4 separate regions of the Homo sapiens genome follow, and all the other regions are linked to region 1. The links are contacts of gene promoters, found by promoter capture Hi-C in blood cells and fetal thymus (Javierre and others, 2016). All regions are on one chromosome and are shown on one strand. Each heading gives the region's core, a stretch centred on a gene start or on the middle of the fragment in contact. The rest is flanking DNA. Distances are from core to core; before and after follow the strand shown.

Region 1 (5,449 bases), core at 2,291-4,790:
CTATCTCATTTCAAAACACAAAACTTTGCCACTTGCATTTTCAGCACAAGAATTAAACTTTACTGAAAATGTTACTTGAAAGTTTTATATTAAATACTCTGAAATAATCCATTGGGGTTCTCTAATATGGGGAGACTGTCTCACAACTACTCATTTTTAATTCATTTTTCTTCTTCTGGATTCTTCACAAAAGACTGTAAGAAAACACCAAATGAGGGAGTAACAGACCTTTACTTTGTAATGAAGTTCCAAATACATTGTATAAGTTTTCCAGGCTTCCTATTTCCCTTCACTCTGCACTATCTATGGAGGTTGTCATATTTCACCAGGGTGGACTGTAAATCAGACAAGTTCAGCCAGTCAGGTTGAAGAATGGAGGTGAAAAGCACAGTGGAAAATACATAAAGTACAATTAAAACCATATGACCAAAGATATTGAAGCAATACTTGCTGGAGGGAATCCAAGTAAAAATCAAACCTTTTCTGGCGTTAGTGAAACTATCCAGTCCATCTGGGACAAGCACACATCATTTGCTAAATATCCCTTTTCTTTTTTTCCACAGCAAGAGCACCCAGGAAAGTTAAGACCTAACAAGGTAATTAAGTGGATAGCTATCTCTGTAGAATAGTTAAGTTCATAGTTGTTATATAAAACTGATCTCTCATTTAAAATAGTTAACATTTATTTAGAAATAGAGTTTAAGATTGGGCAAGAGTAAATTTTGCATCCACCAAAGTGTATTAGAGGTTCATGATAACAATGTTGAATCAAAAACCTTTTCCACTTTTCTGTGAAATCTTTACCTTTAAAGACCCGAGGATTCCATGAAGACAAAGATAATCTAATTGTCTATTGTTTAACATAACGAACAAGAAGCTATAAAATCCAAACTGTCGCCCCTACTACACCTCAAACAACCTAGATGTTACTGTTTCACATAGGTGGCACTTAGCAGGCCAGTGATGTATATGTACAGAAATTAAGAACTCTTGAAGTTGTAAAGCAGCAATTCTGACAATAATCTTGACTTTGGCAACCTATCATCAAAGCCATTCCAAATCTATTTCTCTTATGCATTCCAGGTGTCATTTATAATAATCTCAGTAGACAACTGAAACATAACTTTTAATACTGCTTTGGGATTCCAGTAAACAACTCAAGCTCAGCAAGTCACTTACCCCCAAGAAACTGAATTCCTCCAGCCACTCTTCCCACTGTCCTGGAGATGAGGTCGGAAACACAGCAACCCATGAGGGCAGTGAGCGCCACCAGGAGGAGGAGGCCACAACCCAGGCCGGTCACTATGGTGCAGATCCTCCATTCTGCGCTGGGGATGCCCTGGAAGGAGGCATAGCGCCCACATTCCTCCACCATCACCATCATCTGCCGACTCTCATCATGCACAGGATATGAGCACCTCCGGAAGGTACCGAAGGACACAGGCTTGCCCAGCTGTGATCCCCAGAGCCAGTAAGGCATAAAGAACCCCACGCAGGAGGTGGCAGCACAAAGAAAAGACAGCAAAGCCCAGATTACTCCAGTACAAGTCAGGCTGGATGCCATCTTTCACCAGATAGGGCAATGAGGACCCCAAGTAAGTGTTCAGGGACTGCAGGAGTGAATGAAGGTGTGAAATCACCAGGGACCCACAGATAATCCACAGTTCCGTAATGCAGAATGGATCTTCAGTCTTACTGGGCATCAACTTTCCATCCTCTGCACTAAAGATGATGGTCCCTGGTAAAACAACAGGAAACATTAAAAATTAAAGGCATTAAAAGAAGTGATAACACTGTTTCAGCTAGTCTACAATTTTCAATTAATAAACATTGAGACTTGCCTCAACACTTTAAAAGTGGGAAGAACTAATTCTCTCTATGAGCTTCATAACTCGATTTTTGTCAAACCAGCTCAAAGCTTTTTCATGTCTTTATCTTCCGTAAATATTTCCAAATTAACTCTGACAGCTATTTACTTAAAGAAACGCCCGATTTTTATTTGACAGGCCAATGAATTCATTCTATATATTATATACTCACATTAAAAGTAATGTAGCACTTTCACTGGGCAATAAACAATTAAAATAAAATGAACCATGCCATGATTTCCATTTTTTGGCTTGCAAGTTCATGCTCATAGTTTGTTGCAACTTTTCTATGTCCCTTTAAGGGTGCATTAACTCTCTGCATGAGCCAAACAAACTAATTAGGATAATTTTTCACAATTGCAGAGTACCATAAATTTAACAAGCATTATGGTCTGCGGAGGCACCCACAGTACAGAACTATTACCAGACACTCTTTGTACTCATTCAGCAGCATTTCAGAATTTCTTTAGTCTTAACATCTTCTAGTGTAAAAGAATGCCTGTGTATGACTTATTTTGAGTCTGCAGTTTTGATTCATTGATTCCAACAGTTCTATTGCAATCATTTCTCCCACTGAATGATTGTCTAATTTGAACAGCAATCCATACTTCCCAGTATGCTACATCAAACCCCAGTCATCCAAATGGTTCCAGGGGCATCTACTTCCACCCCAGCCTTTCAAAAAGAGTTCCTTAACCATTTCTCACACTTTCCATAAAGAAATGAATACAGAAGCACAGAGCCCATCCACCCTAGAATTCCACCCCCAGGACCCCTAACTCCAGCTTTCAGGGTCCATAGCAAATTTCCCCCTTTCTTCACCTCGCCCCTACCCGTTTTTTTCTCTAACCACCGCCCATTTTCAGTTCTGGATGTCACTCAAACGGGAGGTCGGCTACTACTTTTTTTTCTAATCTTGTCAACTGCAGTCAGGGCTGAAGTTGATCTATCTGGGCCACGAGGCTGGGGAAGACCAGCAGGGGGTGGCCTGCGGGCAGGGGGCCCCCATCTCCAACTGCGGTGAGGCGCCCTCGCCAAGACAAGCCCATATTTAGCCCCCTGCCATTGCCTCACCGAGCCACTCCACCCATGGAGACACACAATGATCCCTCCATTCTAAAAGGGGGCAAGAGGCATTTTCCAGCCGGCTCTGGACGAAGGGAGGGGATAAGGATGGGAAGGCAGCACCCCCCGGAGGCAGACGCCAAGAGCGGACGCGGCTGGCAGGCAGAGCCGACGGATCCGCCGAGCTCAGGAAGTCCGGAGCCCGGGAGCAGCCCAACTCCGGCTCCGGGGCAGAGAGGGAGCCCGGGAGAAAGCAGCGGAGCCCACGCCCACGGGGCAGCCGAGTGATTTACTTACATGGCTGGCGGGCGGCGGCCACCTTCCCTCCCGCGTCCCGGGCGCACACACAACTTGCTGTCTTTCTCGGGCGGGAACATCCACGGGAAACCGGACCGTCCTGCCCTTCTTTGCCTCTGTCCCTAACAGCCGCAGAACCCCGGGGCCCGACCTGGAAGAGCAGGGGTTGGCAGGAGGCGGAGGGTCTCCAGAAGCGGGCTGGCACCAGCGGAGACCCCCACTCCCGGCGAGTCCGCGGCGGCAGCTCTGGCGGAGCGCTGTGGGCGCGCGCGGGCGCCGGGGATCGCACGCAGAGGAGCGGATCTCCCTTTGGCAGGCGAGGCACGCACCGCCTCCTCCCCTCCGCTGCCCGGCCCTCCTCTTTCTCCAGTCCCCTCCCCTCGCGCCCCGGGGAACTCCGCGCAGACAGACCCAGGACGCACCGGGGACGTTCCTGGAGCGCCGGGAAGGGAGTGGGGGGGTGCCCCGCTGTCCGCGCGGGTCCAGGCCCACCCCCGGGGGCAGCTTTCGCGGCTCCTCCCCTAGCCCCGAGCCCCCTCGCGCCCCCTCTCCCTGCGTCTCATTCAAAGCTGAGTGGGGAAGGCAGACAGACCGAGAAGTATGGGAGAAAGTTGCTTGTCTTCCTGGGTGACCCCGAGGAGCCACGGAAGATGACACACTTTGCCTGTTGGGGCTTTTCTGGGTTTACTGTTCGGGTTTATGCTCCTGTTTTCCTGCCGCCGTTAAAAGAAGCCGTAGACGGGAAAGAGGGCCTTAAAGAGTGGGTAAAGTGGCCCCTTTGAGATTTGAGGAGGCTTTTGAGAAGTGGTCACTTTGGAAGGCGGTGAATGAGGCGGTTGTGGACGTGGGAATTAAAGCACAGCAGACAGCCCAAGGCTCATGTATGGCATGGGGGCAGCTGCCTTTCCAGACGAGCCAGGGAGAAGGCAGGGGCGGACCTCTAGCGAGCCTCTCCCAAGAGATACACTCTTTCAAAGGTCTCTCTCTCTCTCTCTTGCTGTTTCTCTGTCTCTCTCTCCCTCCCTCCCTCCCTTTCCCTTCACTTCCTCCCTCCCTTCTCCTCCATCCTGCCTCCTGATCAATTTTGCAATTTATTCCATCGTTTGATTTCTTTTCTGAGAAACAACTGATTTTTAGTTCCCCTCTGGACTTGAGGACTTTTTCCACTTGTCATTAGCACTAACCCCTTTAGAAGTTTAGAGCTAGATTCAGTAGATGACTGTGGGAGTCTCTGCTGAACACAGTATTTTAAGAAGTATGCCATCTGGGAACAGCAGTTTTTGAAGTAGACAGTTTCCCAGATATAGTTTTTGTGAGGTGTCTTTTTAGAGGAGTTGAAAGTAATAAATTGGTAGGTATATATTTCATAGCAGATTTTCAGACTGCACCATTTTAATTAGCCGTGATGGTGTACATTTTTCCCACAACGACAGCTGGAGATATGTGTTCTTTTATTATTATTTTGAAAGACCTTAAGTGATTGATTCCAAGCCTTTTGAGGTCACAGGTCTTTTAAAAAATACGATGAAACTGATAAGCCTTCCAGAAAAAAAAATGCGCGGACATATAAAGCTTTACCACAGCGATTCTGAAGAAGGAAAGGGATATTTGGCAAGGTCTGAAGATAATTTTGATTATCATAACCCATGAATGGGGAGTATTACTGGCATCTAGTTGGTAAAGACCCGAGATTCTGCTAAATACAGTGCACAGGACAGTCCCCAAAATTACCTGGGCCAAAATGTCAATCATTTGAATGAAATATCAGGTGGTTTCCCATTCCCTTAAAGCCCATCCATGAATCCCATATTCAGAATCCCCAATTTAAGTGTTTTTGTTTTTGGTGTTGTTGTTGAGTTTAAGTTGTTTTAACTCTTCTCTTACAAATCACCGGTTACTGGTTTCAGTGACAGCATAAGAATGATTGGTCTGACTTCCAGTTAGGTACCACACCCTTAGTTATTACACAGAGCCTTCATACCTATATAATATGATGGTGGAAGATATGATCATAAAAGACAAAAGAATAATAGTGAGAATCGGAGTCACCTCCGTACAACCTGCAGGGGAAATTGCTCTCAAACACTTTCTTAAGTGTGAGAAAGCTTAAGCGCAAGTGCTGGCTGGAGACATATTAATGATAATCATGGTTACTACAGATTGACTCCTTGCTGTGTGTTAGTACATTAAGGTCCCTTAATAGATTACTTATCCAGTCC
Region 2 (5,286 bases), core at 458-2,957, 430 kb before region 1:
GGGGACCCTCTGACTTTTACAACTTACCTTAAATTAGTGATTCATCATTCCGATGGGTTTAAACATATCAGCAGATTTTGACATCTCGGCCAGCTGTTGTGGCTTACTCCTAACAAATATAACGCTGGTAGTAAATGCTGCATGATCTCAGAGGCAAATTCATAAAAGGCAATGCAGCTTCCACGTCACTCTCTTTCCCCTCTTGGGACTTTTCCCCCTAAAAATTCAGCTACCGAGGTGTGATAAATTGAAGCAGTCATGTGAGAGGGCCATGGGTAGGTGTTCTAGCTGAGAGCTAGCATCAACTGCCTGACATGTGAGGGAGCAAGACTTTGCATGATTCCAGATTCTAGCATTTAGGCCACCCCGCCTGAGGCTGATTTATGAACAAAATTAATGTTTTGGTTGCTACTAAGTATTGAGTTGGTTTGTTACAGAGCAATAGATAGCTCTGTAACATTTTTCCCATCATTTTTCTCCAGCACCTCAGTAGCCCTTAGTAACTGCCACCCAGTTCTGCAGGCTTTATCATTACTATTTTCCTAGTATCTTTCGAATGCTTGAGATATTATACCAGCTAGCACCTTCTCTTCCACTTGTATCCCTTCCCAGTTCTTCATTAGTGAAAATCTTTTTTTTTTTTTTTTAGAAAAATAGAAAAGTTGACTACTTTGAAAAGGAAACTATGACAAACAAGTATATATTCAGGAAAGGGACTCCTAGAACTTGAGCAACAAAAAAAAGAGTTCAACCTCAGCACAGTGGAGTCTGCAGTGTCTTTGCAACTACAGAAATGAACTTGTGTTCCTCACATCCTTGAGAGTCGAGATTTGCATTTCTCTACAGAGCTCGGGCTGAATGAAGCAAAGAGACCTCTGCCACCCCCACTAGCTGGCCCAGTCCTGGAAACGGAAGCAGTCACTTGCGATCTTCCACACTGTATTCCTGGGTGAGGCCTGGGCGGTCAGGATGAAGTTCTGGTTGAAGTCCCATTGTTTGTTCCCCTTCAAACTTCACTGATCCACAGATCACAACAAGGACCGTGGTCTGGCTCATTGTGGCTTCATCATGAACAGGCTGACAGTCTACCACGCTGATTTGGAACTCGCTGGAAGGCAACATTTCAAAAAACTCACTCAAAGATTCTTGTCCTGAAACAGCATTGCCGTTCCAGACCAGGGTGGCTGTGCCCATGTACAGGCGGGACAGTGCACAGCTATAGCATGTTGCATGCCAAGGGACATAAGGACTCCACCTACTGCCAGAAAAAGGATCCTCATTGTCATCTGGGCAGAGAATGACACAGCTCCAAAATCCCACTTTAAATTCTGTTTCCAAGGACCACTTGACCACCTTTTGACACAGAGTCCCTGGAGATGAGCTTTGTCTGAGAAGAAAATTTGTGTACAGAAAGTTTATTGGCAATCACACTCAGAAACAAGACACTTAAGAAAATGATGGAATAAAAATTGCGTAGAGATAGAAGCTGACCTGCGATACATACTCAAATTAAATCTTAGTTAATAACATGAAGTTCTCTGCAGCTGAGATGGCTAATGAGAATTGTTCTAAATTCAGAAGAGGAAGCTTGGCCTTTGACCCTTATATCAACATGGCAAGGGGCATGATCTTGAGTGAGGCGTCTCCCAGAGGGCAGCCCCCGGAGAAGGGCGCAGGACTAGCCATCAGGAGCCAACACTCCTAGCAGCTGGGTGAACAAACTCCAGAATGGGTCCTGTAGAGAGGACCTGGGTGATGCACCACAATGCCTGCGACAGGGACGATATCTCTGGGTTAGAGAGGATGGGGATGAAATCGTGAAAACTGGAAGCTTAGAAATGTTTACGACTGGGTGAAAGGAGGTAGTCAGTGGTTATACATTATTTACATGATCAATTCATCCCAGATCATGGAACCCCCTGACGCTAAATCAAACAGAGATCAAACAAATGTGTTTTATTTTCTGCCAGCTAATGAATGCTCACACACATATATATGTAATCATTGTTGTAAATTATTCAGTCTCCTGCCCTGGTAATGCACCGCTGCTCTCTGAGCATGCTCAAGAGTCATTTATCACATCACTTTAGAATCAGCTCCTCCAGAAGATTTCCTTTAATATCTTTACTGACTTTTCAAGAGTTCAGCAACAACCGATTAATTCCTTTTTATCCTGCCCCAAATGTCCCAAATATTTTCATATTGCCTTAAAATATTTATCTTGGGCCAGTTTCCAATCTTGCTTGATTCTTCATCTCATCTTGCTTCAAGGAGAAATTTCCTTTGATGTCCATAGTAAACTACTTCCTTGAAAGGCTACATGTGGTTGTTTAAGAGGATTAGAAAGAAACTTGGTCAGATCACTCTGTCAAGCTGTCAAGGCTTTCATCTTTTCAACCTACCTCCTGTGAATTCCTTGAGACCCTCTAACCCGTATGAATATGTTTTCCATTTTTTTGTGGAGGGTGGTAGTTTTTGTTGTTGTCTGCCCTTTAAAAAATTATTCTCATCACTGAATGGCACCATGGCCCCAAATATCTGCATTAGAAATATTTACCCAAAGGTAATCTTCTACCACATGCTCCCAATTTAGTGTAAAATTACATAGTAAATTCTGACTAATGACTGTGTTTGAAATAATTTTTCTTTGCTCTTTTATTTTTTTTAACACATTTCTACTCATCTTTCCATAGCTTCTACAAATACCACTCTCTCTTGTAAAACCTTTCTTTATTTCTCCTGGGCAGAATTAATCACATTTTCTTCTGGATACCTCTACTAGTTCATTCATTCATTCATTCTGCAGTTGCTTATTGAAGTCTACTATACGTCACATATTGTACTGATTCTGAGTACAGATATAAGAAAACTCCCTGCTTTTTTAGATCAGTGAAAAAGAAGAGTAAATAAATAGTTATTACAGTGTCATAACTTCGATGATAGAGGAAGCAGAAGATGCTGTGGAAAGAGAATGGGGGAACTCAATTTGGACTGAGTCTCAAAGGATGAATGACGGTTTTCCAGTTGTAGGGGGCAAGATGGACATTTTGGTGAGAGGAAGCAGTCTGAGCCGGGCAGGCCTCTTTAGGAGAATTATATGTAGCTGCAAAAGGCTAGAGCACGATACATGTGCAGGTCTAACTAGGCACTTGGAAAGGAAGGCAAAGCCATGCTGAGTCACTTGGGAAGCCACTGAAGGTTTATTCCTAAGAAAGTGACATGATATACCTTTTCATATTATCTTTCTATAAAAGAGTTAACCAAAGGGGAAGAAAAAAGACAATATAAGGAAGTAAAAGCTAAGAGTAATATCTGTAACAAATAAAATACGTGGATTAATATTCTTAATAAATGCCTTAAAATCAGTTAGGAAAAGTACTAACATTCCAGTAGTAGGCAAAGGACACATTTTTTGCTTATATTATTCTTTTTAATTGACACATATTAATTGTGCATATTTATGGGGTACAAAGTGATATTTTGATATGTGCATACGATGTGTAATGATATCCACCACCTGTAAAATTTATGATGTTTTGTGTGAGGAACATTCAAAATCCACTCTTCTAGCTATTTAAAAATATACAATAATTTATTGTTAATAATTGTCACCCTACAGTGGTATAGAACACTAGAACTTATTCTTCCTCTCTAGCTATAATTTTGTATTCCTTAACCAATTTCTGGCTGCCCTCCCTTTCTTCTACCATTCCCACCCTCTAGTGACTCTTATTTTACTCTCTGAGATCAATGTTTTTAGCTACATATGAGTCAGACCACACAGTTGTTTTTTTTTTTTTTTTTGTGCCTGGCTTATTTCATTTAACATTACGTCCTCCGAATTCATCCACATTGCCATAAATAACAGGATTATCTTCTTTTTTATGGCTGAATATCAATAGTATTCCATGGCATATAGAGAGAGTATATTTTCTTTATCCATTCGTCTGTTGATAGACACTTAGGTTGGTTCCATATCTTGGCTATTGTGACTAGTGCTGCAATAAACACGGGAGTGCAGATATATCTTCAATATTCTGATTTCCTTTCCTTTGGATATATACCCAGTAGTAGGCTAGCTGGATCATATGGTAATTCTATTTTTAGTTTTCTGAGGAACCTCCATACTATTTTCAATAATGGCTGGACTATTTTTCATTCATATCAAGAGTGTGTGAGAGTTCCCCTTTCTGCACATCTTCACCAGCATTTTTAATTTTTTGTCCTTTTGTCTACAGCCATTCTGACTGGGGTGACATGGTATCTCATTGTGGTTTTGATTTACATTTCCCTGATGATTAGTGATGTTGAGCATTTTTTCCTATTCCTGTTGGCCATTTGTATGTCTTCTTTGGAGAGATGTCCATTCAACTAATTTGCCTATTTTAATTTTTTTTTTTTTTAACTGTTGAGTTGTTTGAGTTCCTTGTATAGTATGGATATCAATCCCTTGTCATGTGAATAGTTTGCAAATATTTTCTTCCAGTCTGCAGGTTGTCTCTGCAATATGTCAATTGTTTCCTTTGCTGTGCAGACACTTTTGTTTGATAAAATTCTAGTTGTTTATTTTCTCTTTGGTTGCCTGTGCTTTTGAGATCTTCTCTATAAAATCTTTGCCCAGCCCAATAAAAGGAAACATACTGACAGTTCATAAAACGTTAACATGGTTTTTCTTTACATGCTGGAATTAATGCCTTATTTTTAGTGTCTTCTGTATCTATTTCTGTACTTTCCAAATTATCCATAATGATCATATATTACTTTTAAAGTTCTTTCTTAATGGAAAAAGAATAATTTAAAGGATCGCTCTGGTAATGTAAACAAATTTGAGGAGAGTCAGATGAAGGAGTGAATCATTTTGCAAAGCAATGAGCATCTCAAAAGAGGTGTGGCTGCAGGGTGAAGAAGGGGAACCAAACTAAAGAAATGTTTAGAGAGGAAATAAGATATGGTGATTAATAATATTCGATGTTGTATATATGGATTTGGAGTTTGGGAAAATGCTTATGGATTTATCAGCACTGTTGTTTCCTAAATTATTGTAGAAGGATCTATTTGTATAGGAGGCACATCAATAATCCAGATCATTTTCAGAAATCTGGTTTGAAATTAAGTGATCAAAGAAGCACACAGCACATGTGATTACATCAGTGTTTTCTATGAGATGTTAACAGATGTTACAAGATGAAGGACTTCCCTGGACAGAAAATTGGGGGAACATCAGGTTAACAAACTTTATATATGTATTTAAGGCATAGAGTTTCTCAGATTCTTTAATATGCTGAA
Region 3 (5,340 bases), core at 2,610-5,109, 490 kb before region 1:
AGTTTAGAAAATTTGAACCCCATCTCCCTCTTAATTTAGCGTAACTGCCAGCAACTGGCTTGAGGGAAGAGAGAAAAAAATCTTTGCTTTTCATAGTTGTTTTAGAAATGAAAGCAACAGGTAAGAGAAAATTCCAAGGAACAGAAAAAATGAGAACGTCCATAATTGTTGGTGAACGTTGCTTCTCCTGGGCCTATTTGTAGGGCTTTCTTTCATGAGTGAAAGCTCTTCTGGGTGGCAACTTCTTATGCCCACCCTCTTGTGCTGTGGCTCTGTTGTACATAGGAAATTATAAATAGTAATTTAGTTCATTGTACATGGTTAAGATGGACTGAGTGAAAAATGGACAATTTATTTATTTGGAATAAGTGTCATTTCTCTGCTTATGCACTTTTTTTCAGATTTTCAAATTCAGCAGACAAACTAGTCCAAACTAATCATGAGCAATGTGCACGTGCTAAGAGCTTCTGGCTGTGATGATGGACACTTTATTTAAATTCTCATTTAATTCTCAGAATAACTCTGTAAGGTAGGTGTTGCTAACCCTTATTAAAAATGAAGACATAGGCTAAAGAGGTTATGTGAGTGGGAGAGCCCAGTTTTGGATGCAGTTTTCAAATAGCAATATTGTTCTCTCTACTTGGTGCTGCATTGTTTGAAGACCCAGAGGCTATTTATTGCCCATTCACAGAACAAGCATGTATCACATCTAACCATGTGCCAGACAGCTGATGGGGATCCAAAGACATGTAGATCCTCACAATTGCCCTTGAGGACCCCTCAGTCAAGGGCGTGGAGATGCAGTCATAATCATAATATAGAATGGGGAGAACTGTGTATGACAAAGATGCCTTCAACTACGTTGTGAGCCCAGAGGAGGGAGCAGGCAATTTTGCCACATATCACAAACAAATTGACATTGAATTACAGAAGGTGCAGGGATTCTCCTGAGAGAAGGCTGGATGGGGGCTTATTCCAAGCAGAGAGAACACAATTAATAAGGGCTTAGAGGTCTGAAAGAGCTTGGAATATTTCAAGCACAGACAGATGTTTCCATGAATGGAACTAAGAAGCATGAGCATAGCAGAAATTACCTAGCTCTTTGCAGCAATGTCGGTAAACTCAAATGTCTACTGATGCCAGATGAATAATAACAATGGCAGAAGTGAACCACGTTTAGTGATAGGGTGTGGTGGGGACTTTGGCAAGCAGTTTTTATGCTTCATTTTCTCAAAAGGAGATTTTGATTTTTAAAAAAGTACATTCTTATTGGTCCAGAAGTCCACCTTTTAGGAATTTATGTTGAAATTACACCTTCCTTATGCAAAACAACATTTGCATTCATTGCATGCATCCATTATAATGTCTTAAAGAAAATATTGGAGAAAAACCAGGACCTTTTCAAAAAGCACTGGCTCAATAAACTTCTCAATTTTCAAAATAAATACAACTTATTCAAACCTAAAGAAAATTGAACATGTCTGCAAGGTGTTTTCATCTCACAAGCTGCGAGTTTGCAACTGTCGGGTGTCGGGGAACTGCTAGCTAGCTACTTGCTGATCACTTCAACCTCTATTTGCATTAAACACATTTTCTGCTGGCAAGTTTGGGAAAACGGAATATTATTTAGGAGTGAGCAGTACACATAGGATATTAAAGTTCCTGTTACAGTTTAGTTTTCTTGGGAGTTAGCACTTTGGAGGAAGATTTAACTTGAAATGCATTCACTTTGCACCTTTTAAGCAGATATTTACACTTGCTTGTGTTAAAATGAAAGTGTTTAGCTACAGGAAGAAAAAAAGGCACAGACTTGTCTTTATTCAACCAACACAAAGAAAACTTTGGAGAACCTGGGGGATAGGGAGTAAGTAAGAAGAGGGAGAGGAAGAAAGTGACGACTATCTTGGTTAATAAAAAATGTCAGGTCAGGAGTCCACGTGCCCTAACAAGGCATCTCTTCTCCCCTAGGTTTTTTACAATTCCATTGTAAAATCTAGATTCTCATCAGGACACATTTTATCAAAGAGAATTTCCCTGTATACATTATGTTGCTAATCAAATTTTGCTTAATAAAAATAAAATGTATGTATAAAAAATAAGGAGTATGTACACCCTGCATTCCATAAAGGAAGGGGTATTCTTATCAGAAATAATAGATTATATTTATCATCGGAACCCAGTCTATCTTTCTAAGGGGGATTTAGAGTGGTCCATAGGAAGAAATGTATTTTTTCATTACCAAAACTTTTCAAAAGCCTTTTCAGTGTAAGAGATATACAAATGATATTTAAACATATGAAATGATGCTCTATTTCACTCATGAGAAATGCAGATTAAAGGTATGTTAAGATACCATTTATTACCTATCAGTTTGGCAAAAATTTCAACACTTACTGATATGCTATCAACAGGGCTTTGGGAAAGCAGGCACTCTCATACATGATTGTTGGGAATGCCAAATGGTATAGCCCTTGTATTAGTCAGGGCTCTTCAGAGAAATAGAACCAATAGGGTGTGTGTGTAGAGAGAGAGAAAGAGATTTATTTGAAGGAATTGGTTCACACTATACTGGAGGCTGGCAAGTCCAAAATCTGCAGGGTGGACCAGCAGGCTGAAAACCTAGGAAAAGCTGATGCTGCGGCTCAAGTTCACAGCCTGTCAGGCTGGAGAATTCCCTCTCCACTCCTGCTCAGGGCAGGCTAGTCTTAATGCATTTAAGTGAGCCAGGGATTCATGAGACCATATTATTTTTCAGAAGCGCTTAATCAAGATCTCAAGTACTTTGAGTTCTCCTGTCATTCTACTCCCATCCAAAATGTGGATGACTTTTTCTCCCCTAAGTTTCAATGATTTAAAAAAGTCCAATACAGATTCTATATACCTTTTGACTTTTTTTCTTTTTCTGCCTCAAAAGGATACAAGGTATCAAAAATGTGAAATTATCAGATATAGTTTCATATTTTGGGGTCATGATTTGTTTTTGTATCAAATCTCTTTCCTCTGTCTGATTACAACATATCCAAAGCTTTCTTGGGTCAGTTACCAAAAGAAAACTCGAGAGGAGCTCTAGTATCACTGGTTATTTTAGGGGGTTAGAGAGGAAAGAGATTAGAAGTGGAAAGGCTCCTAGGAGGCTAAATATAGCAAATGATTTCCAGGGCCTGAACTAAGGCAATGGCAGCAGCAAGAAAATAGGGAAAGTAGAATCGATTGTTCTTGGAGATGCCCAGGTCTCTTGCTCAAGCAGCTGGATGGTTGCATTATCCTCCATTATCTCCTTCACAGAAAGTGACCATCTTGGCTGCTGCATAAAGTGCTAATACCAAAAAGAAACACACAACAATAAAATTCACATTCTCAAAATAAAAATAAAAAAAGAAAGCCAAAGAAAAATGATGCACTGCTTTGACTAACTGGTTCTTTAGATTTTAATTACAGAAGAAAGAAATTATAGAATTTTCTTCCATACTAGGGTGAAACATAAAATTCAGCCTTTGTGGCATGAGGTGGAGGTTGGGTGGAATTTAGGTCCAGCAGGATCAATTTTGACATCCAAGCATTTAGGACTCACTGTTCCAAAGCAACAGGTGAAAATGAGGTCTCTATAGCATCATGGCACCACTATACAGTCATTTTGATGTGGAAAATTAATGATTTCTGATTTCTTTTCCATGGGAAATCTGATGCTTAGAGAGCAGAGCAGTGTTGATATTATTAATATCGGGGAAAAATTATAAGCTGTATATCATTGCTTGGCTGTCCTGTAAAGAGTAGTGGACACATCCCACCAGGGGAGTGTGTGATAATGTGCAGATTCGCATGAATGCACACATACACCCTTTGGCTTGAAGATTCGAGTTAAAGCATAATTCAAGCCAATCAGGACAAAAACTAAAAGATAGGCGCAGGGGATGGAGACAATTCACTACATAATATGTACTCATATGTCCAAGGTATATTGTTATGGTAGATTTTATTATTTTTCAAATTATTCACTGCCTCTTCCCAAAGTGAAAGTTTTCCTGGGGGCCCTTTCTCTGTTGTGTTGCTTCCTGCAGAAGGATTACACATTCCTGCCCTGTTCAGGTGGAGCTGTGTAACTTATTTAGAACAATAAAATTTGAGTGAAGTCATGTAAGTTATTTCTGAGCAGAAATTTTAAGAGCTAGTGAATAGTTCCCTATCTCTCTTTGTCCTCTGCTTGGAGACCAGTAAATCCAGATAGGGGCTTTCCCATCAAATAGGGCCCCTGTGTGAAAATAAGGGGCAGAGTTTCAGCTGACCCACAATGGCTTATTACATGAGTGAGGAATACGGGGATCTCTTGTTACTGCAGCATAACTTAGCCTAAGCTGACAAAACTGTATTACTTACTCCATCAATTATGCTACATAGTTAACATAGTCTTGCTACAAAATTCCAGTTGGTATTTAAAAAATAAGCATTTATTTCTCACTCTTGTTTGCAGGTTGGCTGAGGTCCAACTTATCTAGATTGGATTTGGCTGGCCGTGGCTTCAGGCTTAGGCTGAGTTCAGGTACATTCCACGTGCTACTCATTCTGAGACTAGAAGGTTACCCTGGACACATTCTTCTCATGACAAAAGGAAAGAGCACAAAAGGACAACCCCAAGCCTATAGATGTGTTTTAAATGGACTGCTTTCATCCCATTCAGAACATTCAATTGGCCAAAGCAAGCTTCCCGGCTAAATCCAGTATCAGCTAGGCAAGGAAATATACTCTGCCTCTTGTAGGGCAAACTGCAAAGTCTTATGACTAAGGTGGTAGATAAAGGGAGAAGGAAAGAGTAGAGAACAATAATGCAATCCACCACTAGCTGGATAATTATTTATCAGCAGGTTCAATGGGAGTCCCTTGAATTCTGTGTGCTCCTGGCATGAGCCACACCATCACCTCTCTCCCTGTGTGACATTTACAGCTGGAGAGGATCCAAATTCTGTGGGACTGAGCTTTATACACTTTGGGGTGCTCTTTTCAAGTAAAAGATCACAAAATACCAGGCAAATGTATTGCTAGCTTCTCCTGGGGTCCTCAAAAGGGCCCATGCAAATGAGGGTCTTTGAAACTGAAGCTTCTTTAGCTTCTCATTAAATCAGCCCCTGCTCACAGGCTCACCGCCGTGATCTTTCTTGTGAACAGTCGCTAAAATCTCACTTTTATGTTTACTGACTTATGTCAGTCTTCAAGTAGCTGAGGATTTCCAGATCATCCCACAATACCTATAACTATACGCATGGTTCAAATGTTACTTTCTCAAGGAGAACTTCTTTAACGAGCCTATTAAAAATTGTTTCTACCCCATAGAATCTCCATCCCTTT
Region 4 (5,422 bases), core at 1,148-3,647, 310 kb before region 1:
AAAAGAATGATATCATGTATTTTGCAGAAGCATGGATGGAGCTGGAGGCCATTATCCTTAGCAAACTAATGCAGGAACAGAAAATCAAATACTGCATGTTCTCGTTTATGAGTGGAAGCTAAATGATTACAACTCATGGACACAAAGAGGAGAGCAACAGTCACTGGGGCCTACTTGAAGGTAGAGGGTAGGAGAAAGAAGATGATCCAAAAAAAAATAACTGTTGAGTACTAGGCTTAGTACCTGGGTGGAGAAATAATCTGTAGAACAAACCCCCATGACATGAGTTTACCTAAATAACAAACCTGCACATGTATCCCTAAACCTAAAATAAAGGTTTAAAAAACAAAGAAGATGTTTCTTGAATTTTGAGCCGTGTTGTAAAATAGCTCTGTTATTTGGGTTCCTTTTACTGGACAGTTATAAACAATTTATTTTCTTCCACCAAGACATGACTTTGGAGAAATTCACCATCAACTCCAATTACAAAGCTATCCCATAATATATCATCTAAAAGTCAGCAACATGCTGGTATAGAAACAGATCATTTGGTTGCATAATGTAATAAGTATTGCCCTCACAAAATAATTGATTCTTTTTTATCAGATATTTATCTCTGAATAATTGCCAATTGTATTGGTGAGAAATGCACCTTAAATAATTCCAGTAGTCTTTCAAATGGCCAAGTTTGAAATGATGAGCCAATGGCGATGAAGCAATCCTCACAGGGTTAACAAGCATTCTGGACAGAAATATAGTTATAATTTAGCATTAATCAGGCTGCACTTTGATCCACTTCCTTGTAACTGAAAGTCACATTGCACTAGCTATTCACCATTTGCATCCCCATTTTTCCTGTAGATGAGATTTCGGACTTTAGAATCATAAGGCTTTTGCTTAAGAATTGCTTAAGATGATTTTCAGATCCCAAATTACAGCAAAACAGTTGACACAAACCAGTTGGAAGACCCCCACAGAGGAATAGAATCAGCATGAGAATACAGCTTCTTGTCTCCCTGTCCCATCACTTCACCCTACGCTCTTCTACCACTCAATGGTCTTCACCCTTCAGCCCACTCCAAAACCCTTAAAAACCCTACCTCCAGACTCCTCGGGGAGACAGGTTTATTTGAGGTTTCCTCCTGTCTCCTCGTTGGGCAGCCCTACAATTAAACCTCTTTCTCTGCTGCAACCTGGTGTCTTGGCATATTAACTTGCTGTGTACTTTGAGCAACAGACCCATTAGGGTTACAGTGAGACATTGTGTTTTCAGAAAACTTTACACTTCACAAATTGTCACCAACGCAATGCATCTGGTTGAGAACACTCAATTCTGTTTTCTTCCAGACAGATTGAAAGCCTATCCTCTACACGGCTTGCAAGAAGTTGGTTGACTAGCCCCACATTTATGCAGATGCCCCATATGGTTATTTATAGCAAAAGTTCTACTAAGAGTCTCTGGATGAAATCATATTAATTTACTTACCAGTTGGTTTGTTTGGGGTTTTGTTTTTTCAAAAAAAAATCCCATTTATTTAATGAGTTAAGAGATCCTTGGATGGAGGAAAAAAGAGTAGTCAAAGAGAACAGACATTCAGTGAGAAATTTCTTTGTTGTGCCACCACTATTCTGGCCTAACTTCACAAATCATTGAAGCATGCCATCCAAAAACTCAAAAAGATTGAGAAACACTAACATAACACTAATGTGCAAATTATGTGTTTCTTATATATATACATAATAGGTTTCTCCACCTTAAATGGTTTGAAACAGAAAAAAAAATGTCTTGGAGTTTGCCTTTATAAAAACATTTCAAAGTGTTCTTTATCATTTCGTGGGAAAAAAAAGTTAACAGTAAAAGGAAAATTTCCACAGAATCCAATACCAAAGGGATCTGTTCTTTCATGGATTCGCCTCTGAAAGTTCTCCTGCTATGGAAGGAAATGATGCAGAGTGATCCAATAAATTAAAAGGCAGAATAACTGGCTTTCTGGAAAAGAATAAATGAGGAAGACCTCATAGACTTGAAGAACAAAGGAAGATGTTTTTATGTGCAACCTATCCGGTATTCTAAAATAGATGTTTCACTGGTAGATCAGGCAGCCATGGAGCAATTTTCAAAGCTCTAAGGGTGCAATCAATTGAATGCATTTTACTCTTCCTTGGTGCCCATTTGGGGACTCCACACTTCTGTCACAAGCTACCTGGCTCATCCTGCAAAACACCTTTTTCATCAGATGAGGAAAAATAATCTTGATTACCATTTGACCCAGAAATCCCATTACTAGGCATATACCTGAAAGAATATAAACCATTCTACCAAAAAGACACATGCACATGTATGTTCATCACATGATTATTCACAATAGCAAAGACATGGAATCAAGCTAAATGTCCAACAGTGGTAGACTGGATAAAGAAAATGTGGTACGTATACACCACGGAATACTACACAGCCACAAAAAAGTGAGATCATGTCCTTTGCAGTAACATGGATGGAGCTGGAGGCCATTATCCTAAGAAAACTAATGTAGGATCAGAAAACCAAATATTTCATGTCCTCACTTATAAGTGGGAGCTAAACACTGAGTACACAAGAACACGAAGAAGGGAACCATAGACACCAGGGCCTACTTGAGGGTGGAGGCTGGGAGGAAAGAGAGGATCAAAAAACTACATATCAGTTACTATGCTTATTACCTGGGTGACAAAATAATCTGTACACCAACATCCCATGACACATAATTTACTTGTATAATAAACCTGCACATGTACCCATGAGCCTAAAAGTTAAAATAACAATAACAATAATAATTATTATTATTATCTGGGTTTCCATTAAAGCCAGGGGGCTAGAAAGACGTAAGTGGGAAATAATGGTTTGTAGCCTTTCATCAGAAGACTGAAAATACTTTTTCATCGTGATCCCTTTTCATCTTTTCCCAAGTTCTTGTGTGGATTGAGATAATAGCAATGAAATTGTTGCATAACTAGTGGGCCATACTTGACATAATAATGGATGACTCCAGAAGAGTGAACACACAGTGGGGCAAATGTAGAAGTATACTGTCATCTGTAAGAATAGAAGTAGCCTTTGTTTTATGATAAACTTGATTTCATTATAGTACTTGATTTCTCTCTCTTTCCATGAAAGTGAGTTTTGTAAAGGCTGAAAATCGCATGTGTACACTTTCACTGTTCAACACAGAGGATCTCTCAATGCCATTTTTGTTTTAAAGTCTTTAAAAGAAATTGCCCAGTGCTCCTTTGGATGCCCATCCAAATGCTCAGAGGAAACTGCATGAAAAAATTGTAAATTTTAAATCTTTCTCCTGTAAAGGAACTCTTTGGATGAGAAATAACCAGCCATCTAAATATAGGCTTATGTAAAATTTGTTTTTAACATGTATCTCAAACTTCAGGTATTTTCTCAAGCCCTGTGTTCAAAAAATTAACAAAAGAATATTCTTTGGAAATGTGCTTTGAACTTGTGCTTACTGTAAAATTCAGTACAAGGAGCATGTTGAAACTGTAACTTCTGGGAGGGAGTATGATAGTTTGTTTAAGAACTCCAGGGCTAATGAAAGTAGTAAGAATGAGAAAGTCAAGAAAATGTTAAGGTGTTTCATTACAAAAATGATCAAATATTCAGAGTTGATGTTGCAAAAAAAAAAAATAGAAAATGCAACAACTAATGAATTGGCACAGCCTTTTCAAATGATTTGCTTTTCACCAACAAGCCTGACTGAGCAAGGTCAAGATAGCACAGCACTGTCCAGAAGTGACAAATTTATTAGGATTTAAAATAGCAACACATGCATGTCATGAGAGATGGGCAACTGTGACTTATTCTTTCCCCTAGGAATGTACAATTTTTAAAAAATCTATTGACAGAACAGCTGAAACATGAACATGCAAGTTTTAAATTGCACGCCTAGGCCTATATTAATAAATGAGAGTAGAGACAGCCTTCTCTGTGATACTCTCCGAATATTTTATATTGAATCACACAAACAAGGATTAGAGGGCTATCGTCACAATAATAGAGAGATGACACAAATGAAAACCAAGGGAAATTTAAATTATGATTTGCCACTCTAATAACTTGAATATGTTCCTCTTATTTTAGAGTAAGAGGCCATAACAGAATTAGAAGAAATGGAAAGGCTTTTGTACAATAGTTTAGGGAAGAAGGACATGACAGTATTTTACTTTGGGTCAAAATAATCATATTCACTGTCAGTAATTAATTAGGACAAATTAATTACTGGAGTCCATTTGTTTATAGCCAATTATGAAGTTCCACTATGTGCCAGTAATGTAGTAGGAGTTGGAGATGGAAACGAGCATGAAAATAAATCATTACAATTATAACAAGATACGTACAAGTGCCAGGCAATGCTTGACAGCCCTCAATATGTTTGTTGAGTGGCTGAATGGCTGAACACAGAGAAAGTAATGTCAGACCTAAAAGGATGATGAAAGACTTCTCAACTGTCCAGCGTCAAAGAGTCATTGATGTCTCACAAGCCTACATTTATACTGCTCTCTTCTAATCAAAGTGACCCCAAACCACTGTTTTTTGGGGATGGGCATATGCTGTTTTGATTCCCAATCCCGACTTTGAAGTTGAAATAAGTCCTGATAACCCATCATCAAAGGATTGCACCAGGTATCTGTGCATGAGTTGAAACATGCAGATGTGGATTGGGTGCCAGGTAAGTGAACCACCTCTGTGACATCCCTCTGTAGTCATTTGCTTTGGTGCCATAATAAATCACCACAGTTTAGTGGCTTAAAACAAAACTAATTTATCATCGCAGTTTCTGTAGGCAGAAGTCCCAGAACTGCAGGGCTCAACTGGGCATCTGTGTAGAGTCTCACAGGGCCAAAATTAAGGCAGCAGCAGGGCTATGACCCACGTCCACATTTTCTTGTTGGCTGTGGACTGTGGACCAGGGCATTCTCAGACACTAGACCTGCCAATATTCCAAGGCTCATGGTCCCCTTCCTCCATCATCAAAGCCCACAGGTGCAGGTCAAGTCCTCCTCAGGCTGCCATGCCTCTTCTGCCTTCTCTTCCATTAGCGTATCTCTCTGACTGCCACTTCCTTCTTCCTCTTCTAAGGGCCCAAGTGATCACAAACTTCACCTCACAGGCAAAGTCTTTTTCCAACTATGGGAACATATTCAATGGTCCCAGGGATTAGGGCATGGACATCTTTGGAAGCTTGTTATTCTGTCCACCACAGCCTACTTTCAAACCTCCACAATATATGTGTTTCATAGCCATAGAGAGTGGCAGCAAGCCACTGCCATTGATCTTTAGTTTTTGGTGAATGAAAAGCAAACATACTCCATTTATTACCACTAAGAATGCAGGGATATTTTTCCAGTTTACTGTGAAGCTCCCTGATATGGT

The links. Contacts are between HindIII fragments. The CHiCAGO score rates a contact against its expected background, and 5 or more counts as called.
Region 2: a fragment that was not itself captured here is called in contact with the fragment with the promoter of LHFPL6 in region 1 in 2 of 17 cell types (M0 macrophages and erythroblasts); the score reaches 6.1 in M0 macrophages.
Region 3: a fragment that was not itself captured here is called in contact with the fragment with the promoter of LHFPL6 in region 1 in 1 of 17 cell types (activated CD4 T cells); the score reaches 5.2 in activated CD4 T cells.
Region 4: a fragment that was not itself captured here is called in contact with the fragment with the promoter of LHFPL6 in region 1 in 1 of 17 cell types (M2 macrophages); the score reaches 6.3 in M2 macrophages.

What each region holds. Positions count from the first base shown.
Region 1 is chr13:39,599,653-39,605,101 of GRCh38, forward strand. LHFPL6 (LHFPL tetraspan subfamily member 6) reads right to left here and starts at 3,541. Exons shown (of 4, transcript NM_005780.3): 1 at 3,231-3,541; 2 at 1,180-1,738. The coding sequence starts at 1,564. It overlaps LOC112268119 (protein SPT2 homolog), which reads left to right and starts at 1,672. Exons shown (of 4, transcript XM_035861111.2): 1 at 1,672-1,741; 2 at 2,798-2,888; 3 at 2,992-3,990. The coding sequence starts at 1,672. RefSeq lists a silencer at 3,436-3,735. The HindIII fragment of the contact is 2,884 bases long and covers 1,917-4,800 here.
Region 2 is chr13:39,168,742-39,174,027 of GRCh38, forward strand. It overlaps the pseudogene NXT1P1. Among named protein-coding and RNA genes, the nearest start is that of NHLRC3, 130 kb to the left of the region's middle. The HindIII fragment of the contact is 244 bases long and covers 1,586-1,829 here.
Region 3 is chr13:39,108,223-39,113,562 of GRCh38, forward strand. No RefSeq gene overlaps it. Among named protein-coding and RNA genes, the nearest start is that of NHLRC3, 72 kb to the left of the region's middle. The HindIII fragment of the contact is 1,673 bases long and covers 3,024-4,696 here.
Region 4 is chr13:39,290,015-39,295,436 of GRCh38, forward strand. No RefSeq gene overlaps it. Among named protein-coding and RNA genes, the nearest start is that of NHLRC3, 250 kb to the left of the region's middle. The HindIII fragment of the contact is 5,662 bases long and covers 1-5,228 here.